Linked DNA regions of Homo sapiens: region 2 is linked to region 1. Evidence: promoter capture Hi-C in human tissues and cell types (Jung and others, 2019). All regions are on one chromosome and are shown on one strand. Each heading gives the region's core, a stretch centred on a gene start or on the middle of the fragment in contact. The rest is flanking DNA. Distances are from core to core; before and after follow the strand shown. Region 1 holds the start of TMEM235 (transmembrane protein 235). Region 2 overlaps ST6GALNAC1 (ST6 N-acetylgalactosaminide alpha-2,6-sialyltransferase 1).

Region 1 (5,129 bases), core at 1,018-3,517:
GCAATTCTTCTGCCTCAGCCTCCCGAGTAGCTGGGACTACAGGCACACGCCACCAGGCCCAGCTAATTTTTGTATTTTTAGTAGAGACGGGGTTTCAGTATATTGGCCAGGCTGGTCTCGAACTCCTGACCTCATGATCCACCCGTCTCAGCCTCCCAAAGTGCTGGGATTACAGGCGTGAGCCACTGCACCTGGCCAAAACCTCCTCCTAGATAACAGTGGCGTTAAGCATTTTTTTTTTTTTTGAGATGGAGTCTTGCTCTGTTGCCCAGGCTGGAGTGCAGTGGTGTGATCTCAGTTCACTGCAACCTCTGCCTCCCGGGTTCAAGTGATTCTTCTGCCTCAGGCTCCTGAGTAGCTGGGATAACAGGCATGAGCCACCACTCCCAGCTAATTTTTGTATTTTTAGTAGAGACAGGGTTTTGCCATGTTGGCCAGGCTGGTCTGGAACTCCTGACCTCAAGTGATCCTCCCACCTCGGCCTCCCAAAGTGCTGAGATTACAGGCGTGAGCCACTGCACCTGGCCTTTTTTTGTTTTTTAAGACAGGGTCTCACTCTGTTGATCACAGCCACAGCTCACTGCAGCCTCAACCTCCTGCCTGGGTTCAAGCAATCCTCCCACCTTGGCCTCCCAGGTAGCTGAGACCACAGGCACAAGCCACCATATCTGGCCCTACGTAAGCTTTATGTGGGTGCAATAACAGATCTCAAACCAGCTCTCAGCTCAAGAGAAGGGGAAGCTGGGCACAGTGGCTCACGCCTATAATCCCAGCACTTTGGGAAGCCGAGGCAGGAGGATCACTTGAACCCAGGAGTTCGAGACCAGCCTGGGCAACATAGGGAGACCCCTGCCCTCCCTGTCTCTGAAAAAAAAAAAAAAAAAAAAAGAAAGGAGAGGCTGGGCTTGGTGGCTCACACCTGTAATCCCAGCACTTTGGGAAGCCCAGGCAGGAGGATCACTTGAACCCTGGAGTTTGAGTCCAGCCTGGGCAACATAGGGAGACCTTGTCTCTAAAAAAATAAATAGAGTGAGAGAGAGAAGGGGAAGTCACCGGGAGGACACACATGGAGCACGCAGCCCAAATGGGGCTCCTCTGTTCTCCCTGCAGAGTCAGTTCGTACCTTTCACATGCACAAAGGTGTTGATCCAACCGAAGCAATATTGATTCTTGTTATATTGCTTTATTGTGGGGTCAGTGTCAGAGTACCACGAGTTTTCATCACGCACCGTTCTTTCCCCAGCTGCAGTGTGTTTAGGGGGGGAACGAGGCCCCACCCCCTATCCCTATCGCCTCTGCCTTTATAACGGCTGCTACTCTCTGAGCACCTGTTGAGTTCTTTCACCTTCCAGATCTAATGTGCTATCCCCACCCCTAGAGAACAGGGCTGCTGGATGCCACATGGCTCCCAGAGAGGGGCTGTGGTCAGGGAAGCCCCAGCTCCAAGGGGGCTGGAAAACCCCAGAGCTGCCCACGTGCGGCAACACAGTCTGGTGCTGCAGGTGTGAGGACGGCTACAAAATACCTGAGCCATTCTGTCACTCTGTCTGAACTCTGTTTGAAATATTGTTTCAATAACTGCTAGGCTGGTTTTTCCTTCCTGACTATATTCCTCAAACCAACAAGAGCCTAGCAGAGGAAAGCATGGCCAAAACGCCCCAAGAAGAGAGCCTTGGCTTCACCTCCAAGGGCCACCATCCGGGAGGATGTCCTCAGACCTCTGATCCCCTCTCTGCAGGCTCTGCCCAGCCCTGTGTGGCAACCCAGAGGAAGCCTCCCCTTCGTTTGAGATTTAACCCCAGACCTTAGGCGATGGCTGCCCAGCCTGTCCCTTCCGCCTGTGTGGCTGCCCACGCGGGCGTTGCTCATGGGGCTAGTCCTGGGTGGATGGGTGGGGGCCTCTCGCCGGCTCCTCTGCCTCCCACCCCCACTGGCACCCCACGCCTGTCCTAGAAGGTTCTTTCTGCCTGTTTTCTCCGTGAGTGACTGGACAGGCAGAGGCCGGCCTTGCTGGAGGGGGCATTTGTAATTATGAGTGAATCCAAAACAAGGTTTTTTCCTTCCGCAGCCCCCCGCCCGGCTGTGGGGCCCAGCCACTGCACTTCACCGGATGCCGTCTGGTTGGTCCTCAGGACTGATACAGACCAGGACCCCAGGGCCAGCCCGTGCCAGGCTCCTATGCTTCCAGGAGCACGGGTGGGTGGTCCTGCTGCCTGGCCGGCCATCCTCCTGGGGTCGGTCTCTGGCCGATCCTCCCTCCTCCTCTCAAGCCCTGCACAGCCCGGCCAGGCAGGTGCATCTTGTTTGGCTGCTGAGGAGCCGGGGGTTCAGGGAAATTAAGGAACGTGCCCAGGGACCCGGGGCCAGCCCGTGGGGACGCTGGGATTGGAGCCCAAGCCCCAGGTTCGCCGCGCGGCTCTCGACTTCCTCTCCTTTCCCCCAGGGGCGAGCTCAGCGACCGCAGAGAGGTGGGGTCGATCTCCCTGCGACCCCAGGGGGCCCGCGAGGCCAGTGCGCGGGCAGGAGCGGGGACGTGCTCAGAAGAGCCGGGCGCCGCCGCGCCCGCCCGCCCCCCGTCCCCCGGCTCCCGGCTCCGCGCGCCCCCCGCCGCCCCCGGGGCCCTGCTACCCCCGACCCGTCCCCTCCCGCCGGCCGCCCCCATGGCCCGGCTGGGCGCGCTGCTCCTGGCCGCCGCCCTGGGTGCACTGCTCAGCTTCGCGCTCCTGGCCGCCGCGGTCGCCAGCGACTACTGGTACATCCTGGAGGTGGCGGACGCCGGCAATGGCAGCGCCTGGCCCGGGCGCGCAGAGCTGCTCTCCTCGCACTCGGGGCTCTGGCGCATCTGCGAAGGTAACCGGCCACCGCGCCGGCCCTCCTCCCTCCGCGACCTCGTCCCTCCGACACCCCCTTAACCCCGCCCTGCTCGTGTTGCCCCGCCAGACCCCCTTCCAGGACCCCTCTCTTGCATCCCGCTCTGCCCCAGGGTGTCTCTCCGCTCCCTCCCCATCACCCTCCGTCTTCCCCCAAAACTGACAGCCCAAGGGCTACAGGAGGGAGGGAGCCCAGTTCGGGGCCCCTCACAGCCGGAGGAGGGGGCTGTGGGGCGACAGTGGGGGAGGGAAGCCTAGAGGTGTGTAGTTGGGGGGCCTCATCCAAGTCACCAGGGGTTGTTTCTTGATCACGCTCCCCGGGGTTTGGGCCTGGCAGCCCCTTGTCCCCGTCCCTGTCAGGCACTGTCAGAGCTGTTCACCCCACACCTCCTGATGCCGCGGGGGCAGGGGTTCCAAATGTGTACAGAGGCTTCAGAGTCCGGGGAGAGAGAAGGGGATCCCAGCAGGCTGGAGGGTCCACAGGGCCCCCTCCGTTCCCCCCAGCTCCCTCCTCCGGAGCTGGGGCCAGCCTGGGGAGCTTCCCCTTCACAGCGCGAGGGCTGGCAGGGCAGGGGTGTGTGTGTGAGTGAGCATGTGTGTGCATCTGAATATGTGTGCATGTGCTGAACATGAACATGTGTGAGCACCTGGCTGTGTATGTAAATATGAATATGTGAGTGTGAGTGTATGTAGTTGTGTGTGCATGTGAATATGAGTGTGTGAGCATGTCAGTGTGCATGTGTGTGCATGTGAGAGTGTGTGGGCATGTATATGAGTGAGTGCATGTGTGGGTGGTGCACATGTGCTGGTGGCTTCCTCAGTGCAACTGGGGAGGAGTTAGGAGCCTTGTGTTCATCCAACAGACTGCCTAACTGTGCTCCAAAGACCTCCTGACATGCACCTGTGTGCACGTGTGCACACGCCTGTGCCTATGCAGGTGGCTCTGCACGCGTGTGAGAACCAGAGAGTATGTATGCCCACATGACACGAGTCAGGAAGATTCCAGAGCGAGGCTTCCCAGGAGCCCGTTTTGTACACCCTTTTTCCTTTCAGGCAAAGCCTGAGTTCCACACACAAACGCATTACAAGGACCCCTGCCTGAGGGACTCTGAGGGGGCCTCCATGGAGCGTTTGAAAGTTTAAACATGCACCTGTGCAGGCATAACTTGCACGTGAAAATAAACAAGGTGAAGGCTGGGCCCGGTGGCCCACGCCTGTAATCCCAGCACTTTGGGAGGCCGAGGCGGGTGGATCACGAGGTCAGGAGATCGAGACCACAGTGAAACCCCGTCTCTACTAAAAATACAAAAAATTAGCCGGGCACGGTGGCGGGTGCCTGTAGTCCCAGCTACTTGGGAGGCTGAGGCAGGAGAATGGCGCGAAACCGGGAGGCGGAGCTTGCAGTGAACCGAGATCGCGCCACTGCACTCCAGCCTGGGGTGACAGAGCGAGACTCCATCTCAAAAAAAAAAAAAAGAAAAAGAAAATAAACAAGGCTAAAGGTCTTGGGCCTTTTCATCCCACTTGGAGTCCCAGCCCTGAGTTTCAGCAGAAGAGAAGCTGGCAGGGCCCTGTGGTGCCAGGGGGTCCCCTGGGCTCGGGTAGGCTGCTGGGTGCACCACAGCGTCCAGGCCCCAGGCTTCGAGGCCTATGTTTCCCAGGGCAGAACGGCTGCATCCCGCTGGTCGACCCTTTTGCCAGTGAGAGCCTGGACGTCTCCACCTCGGTGCAGCACCTCATCTGTGAGTCCTGGGTGGGGCCACCTCCCCATCCTTTCCAAATATTCAGGCAAGGCAGATCCCAGCCATCCCCATCCCCATCCCGCAGCACTGCTTCCACTGCCCCTGCGTTTCCAAGAGGACGTTTCCACGCAGACCTGTCCCAGTGCTGTGCTGCTGTCCCTAACCACAGGTGCCCAGCTCCCAGCCTATCCTGTTTTCCCCTGTCTCAGTTTCCCTCTCAGTGGTGATGGCTCATCCCTTTGTTATTGGGGAAGCCAGGCAGCTCCCAGCTTGGCTGGATCCTGCGGGCCTTGCAGACTCCTGGCTCCCCATTTAGGACTCGATTCTTCCAGATGGCCTGCTGTCTACCTGGCTGGCACCTTCCACCTGGCGGGTTGGGGGACATGTGAGGCCTGGGGATGGGGGCTGGGAGTGTTCTGGGGACGCCTCCCCTCCTGGCCTTAGGAAGCCCCTGCCAGAGTCAGAGGGGGCCACTGGGAGGGTCCAGTGGTGTCCACAGAGATGGGCGTCAGCCGCT
Region 2 (5,129 bases), core at 970-3,469, 1.6 Mb before region 1:
CCTGAGGTCGGGAGTTCGAGACCAGCCTGACCAGCATGGAGAAACCCCATCTCTACTAAAAATACAAAATTAGCCGGGCATGGTGGCACATGCCTGTAATCCCAGCTACTCGGGAGGCTGAGGCAGAAGAATCGCTTGAACCTGGAAGGCGGAGGTTGCGGTGAACCGAGATCGTGCCATTGCACTTCAGCCTGGGCAACAAGAGCGAAACTCCATCTCAAATAATAATAATAATTAAAAATCAATCAATCAATTTATCATGAACAAGAATCGCACAATAAAAGAAACAGGAAAATAGTTATCTGGCAACATCCTCCCTCTCTGTATATATATATTTTCTTTTTTTTTGAGACTGAGTCTCTGTTGTCTAGGCTGGTGGCACGTTCACAGCTCATTGCAGCCTCGACCTCCCGGGCTCAAACGAGTCTCCTGCCTTGGCCTCCTGAGTAGCTGGGACTACAGGTGCATGTGCCCCCAGGCCCAGCTGCCTTCTATATTCTTCAGTGTACATCACCAAGGGGAACCTGGAAGTGAAGAAATGGCAAAAGGTTCAAAGTTCGTTTATGCCTGCAGCCATGAAACACCTATTGGCCAGAGAGCGGTATTTTCCAAGAATACAGTACGAGAGATAACACAGGAATGTTGAAGTTGACTAGGATATTGAAGAGGCTGAAACTGAATTTTGAAAAAATACCCCAAGGAAAGGTCACTCACTAACAAAGCCAGTATGAGTAGAAGATTATTTTATGGAGGAGGATAAGAAAAGAGCTGAAAAGACTCCTTTGATTCGCTAAATAATTTTGCACCTGGGCTCCCGCCTTCTATGGCATGGAGAGCGAGCGGAAGTGGCTGCAGGTGAGTTGCGCCTGGTATGTGGGAATGGCTGGTCACACAGAATCGCCTCTACTTACGTCCTTAAGTCCTGGGCTCTTTCTCAGTCCCCACCATCAACTTTGCCCTCATTTTATCTCAGGCCCCCTGGCTGGGTGAGCTTTCCTCTTCCAGGTTACATGTTTGGTTCCCACAGCTTTGATGCTGCTTCTCCTTGAAAGGAGGACAAACTAACACTTCGCTCTGCCCTGTGTCCCTCTCCACTCCCTGCTGTGGAGCTCTCTACCTTGAACTGCTCCTGCCTCCTGTGCCCCACATTGTTAGCTGGGCCTGGAGTTCCCAAGACCCCCTTGGTGTCCACGAGGGCTATTCCAGCCTCCTTTTGGTATTTGATCAGTTCTTCGGGGTCTCCTGTCTTATGTGAGATAGAAACCAGCCATTCTGCTTTTTCTTTTCCAACTCTAAAGTTGGCCAGGCGTGGTGCCTCACGCCTGTAATCCCAGCACTTTGGGAGGCCGGGGGTGGGGGTGGGGGGTGGATCACCTGAGGTCAGGAGTTCGAGACCAGCCTGGCCAACATGGTGAAACCCCATCTCTATTAAAAATACAAAAATTAGCTGGGCATGGTGGTGCATGCCTGTAATCCCAGCTACTTGGGAGGCTGAGGCAGGAGAATCGCTTGAACTCGGGAGGCAGAGGTTGCAGTGAGCTGAGATCGTACCACTGCACTCCAGCCTGAGTGATACAGCAAGACTCTGTCTCAAAAAAAACAAAAACAAAAAACAAACTCCAAAGTTTATCTTCCTTGGAAAATCCTGAAAGTTTTCTAAAAGTGAATGAATGCTTTATTTTTACGACTTTACTTTGACTTTAGATGTGTCTATACGCTGCTTCCATGACTAAAAGCTGTATGATTGCCTTAATTATCTTTGTATGCTGGAAAAAAATGGCAGAAATCCATTTTCTCTTGTTATTCTGAGTGTTCTTTTCTCAAATCAAAGCCTGTGTGGTGGTTTTCAGCCACCTCAATCTTAGTGGGGAGATTCTAGTGGGGATGTTATTATGTTCTGGGACTCGAGAGAAAACAGAAGGAAAATGAGTCAGTTGCTGCTCATCATACTTCAGTGGCTGGATACAGCTTCCAGAGCTCCCCCTGAACAGACAGGTCCCCAGCATTCTCAGAGATGCCCTTCGCCTAGCTGAATTCACTGTGGGCCAGAATGCCAGTCAGCTGGTTTGAAAGTTAGATGTCCTACGCCTGTAATCCCAGCACTTTGGGAGGCTGAAGCAGGCGGATCACTTGAGGTCAGGAATTCGAGACCAGCCTGGCCAACATGGCGAAACCCTGTCTCTACTAAAAATACAAACGGCTGGGTGTGGTGGTGCACGCCTGTAATCCCAGCTACTCTGGAGGCTGAGGCAGGAGAATTGTTTGAGCCTGCGAGGTGGAGGTTGCAGTGAGCAGGGATCGCATCACTGCACTCCAGTCTGGGCAGCAAAGAGAGACTCTGTCTCAAAACAACAACAACAATAACAACAACAAACCAACTAAATGAGACATCTTATGGAAAGTTCTACGAGAACTTGACAACACAATGCAATGTTTATTCTGCAATATTCATTGAGTAGCCATGACATGACAGGCATTCAGAGGTATCTGCTAGAGATTAAAGATAAAAAAAGCAATGGTCACTGGTTTTAAGAGGCTCACAGTCTATAAGAGAAACAGACATGAGTATAAGCAGCTGCCTTAAAGTGTCATCGGTATGATATTAGTCATACGTGTGCGAGGCAGTGGTGACAGCCTAGGGAGGCAGTTCTGCTCGGGGGGATACTTTGGTATGTAGGGGTTACCTAAGCTGAGTCTTTTTCTCCTGAGTCTTCAGAAGTGAACTTTTATGAATTATTTTTATTTTTATAAAAGCAATGTGTGCTTATTACGGAAAAAGCAGAAACTGCCTTAAAACATGAAAGGATAGCAACCTCCTATTATCCCAGTCCCTTCAAAGAATCTACTGTTAGTACCTCAGGGCATGAACAGCCGCATCCCTTTTCTACGCCTGTCATGCTTTTGAATACAATTATATACTATTTTGAAATGTTATTTGTTTCCCTCTCCACCCCACCCCCATACCTCCAGCAGTTAAGATTTGGTTTCATGTTCAAGATGTAGTGAAACAGATCAATCTTGGAGAAGTTATGAGGGGGAAGGACTTTACTACTTCTTACCATCATTGTCCTTCCCCTGGAAAGATCCTTTACTCTGGTGGGTGGCGGAAATGAGAGAAGGAGGGATCTGTGAGTTCCAAGGTCAGAGGACCCTGCTTCCTGGCAGTGTTCCAAAGGTCTAACAAGACCCCTGGAAAAAAAAAGAATCCTGAGCCTAGGAAGACAGGACCACAGACAGTGTCAGAAAAGTCTCACACGGAGCTGAGATCACGCCACTGCACTCCAGCCTGGATGGCAAAACGAGACTCCGTTTCAAAAAAAGAAAAGTCCTCCCGCCCGGCCAGCCTCCCCGTCCGGGAGGTGGGGGTAGCCCCCACCCAGCCGCCGCCCCGTCTGGGAGGTCGGGGGCGCCTCTGACCGCCGCCCCGTCTGGGAAGTGAGGAGCCCCTCTGCCCGGCCGCCACCCCATCTGGGAGGTGTACCCAACAGCTCATTGAGAACGGGCCATGATGACGATGGCGGTTTTGTCGAATAGAAAAGGGGGAAATGTGGGGAAAAGAAAGAGAGATCAGATTGTTACTGTGTCTGTGTAGAAAGAAGTAGACATAGGAGACTCCATTTTGTTCTGTACTAAGAAAAATTCTTCTGCCTTGGGATCCTGTTGATCTATGACCTTACCCCCAACCCCGTGCTCTCTGAAACATGTGCTGTGTCCACTCAGGGTTGAATGGATTAAGGGCGGTGCAAGATGTGCTTTGTTAAACAGATGCTTGAAGGCAGCATGCTCGTTAAGAGTCATCACCACTCCCTAATCTCAAGTTCCCAGGGACACAAACACTGCGGAAGGCCGCAGGGCCCTCTGCCTAGGAAAACCAGAGACCTTTGTTCACATGTTTATCTGCTGACCTTCCCTCCACTATTGTCCTATGACCCTGCCAAATCCCCCTCTCCGAGAAACACCCAAGAATGATCAATAAATACTAAAAAAAAAAAAAAAAAAAAAAAAAGATTCCCATCACACCCTAAACCTAAAAGGTTTAGGATAAATAAAGATGTGAATTAAAAAAAAAAAAAAAAGACATAGAACAGTCACCACAAGGGTCCCTCATGTTGTCCTTTTATAGCCACAGCCACTTTCTTCCTACACCACCCCCTCCTCAACCCCTAGAAACACCACTCATCTGTTCTGTATTTTTATAATTTTATCATTTCAAGAATGTTATTTGAATGCAATCATACAATTATGTAAGCTTTTGGTACTGGCTTTTCAAAAAAACAGAACAAAAAAAACCCAAAAAAAGTCTCTCACACATAAGCCAGGTGGACCTGAAAGAGCCAAGGGGCAGGAACAATGGCTGTTTCAGCAGCTACTCAATAGCGAAGGGTCAGCGTCCCACTCCCATGCCTTGGCACCGCATCAGATGTCCTGGAGCCCTTGATACCATCCTGCAGAGGGGCAAGAAGAGCTGAGATTAAGTTTTCCTGAAGCTTGGTGGATGGGAGTTCAGAATCAGAAATCAGGAGGTGATAGAAAATAAAGTTCTGTTCTTTTCTTTTTGGACACAGAGTCTCACTCTGTCGTCCAGGCTAGAGTGCAGTGGCATGATCTCGGCTCACTGGAAGCCAGTGCCCAGGTTCAAGCGATTCTTGTGCCTCAACCCCCTGAGTAGCTGGGATTACATGCATGTGCCACCGTGCCCGGCTAATTTTCATATTTTTAGTAGAGATGGAATTTTGCCATGCTGGCCAGGCTGGAGAACATAAAGTGACAACAAGAAAATGACAAACAGAACCCATAGGTCTGTTTTTACAGCTCACTCTTTTTTTTTTTTTTTTTTAATGGAACGCTTTACGAATTTGCACGTCATCCTTGTGCAGGGGCCATGCTACACAGCTCACTCTTAATTACCATCTCTAAAGCTAAAACAAGCATAGATCTTCCAAAACATATTTATACCAGACTATGGAAGCCAAGCAGAGACATAGTCTTAGATGACATCTACACATCACTGAACAAATGATGCACGTGGGTGCGTCTTAAGATGATATGAGAGATGGCCCGATGGGTTTGAAATCATAGAATTGTATTTTTTATTTTTTTTTTGAGACAGAGTCTTGCTGTGTCACCCA

Evidence for each region. Contacts are between HindIII fragments. The study calls those that stand out against the background at their distance.
Region 2: a fragment that was not itself captured here is called in contact with the fragment with the promoter of TMEM235 in region 1 in 1 of the 25 tissues and cell types used here (aorta).

Annotation. Positions count from the first base shown.
Region 1 is chr17:78,229,364-78,234,492 of GRCh38, forward strand. TMEM235 (transmembrane protein 235) reads left to right here and starts at 2,268. Exons shown (of 5, transcript NM_001395503.1): 1 at 2,268-2,850; 2 at 4,532-4,612. The coding sequence starts at 2,661. The HindIII fragment of the contact is 13,022 bases long and covers 1-5,129 here.
Region 2 is chr17:76,633,292-76,638,420 of GRCh38, forward strand. All of the region lies in intron 1 of ST6GALNAC1 (ST6 N-acetylgalactosaminide alpha-2,6-sialyltransferase 1), which reads right to left. Among named protein-coding and RNA genes, the nearest start is that of ST6GALNAC1, 7.9 kb to the right of the region's middle. The HindIII fragment of the contact is 7,403 bases long and covers 1-5,129 here.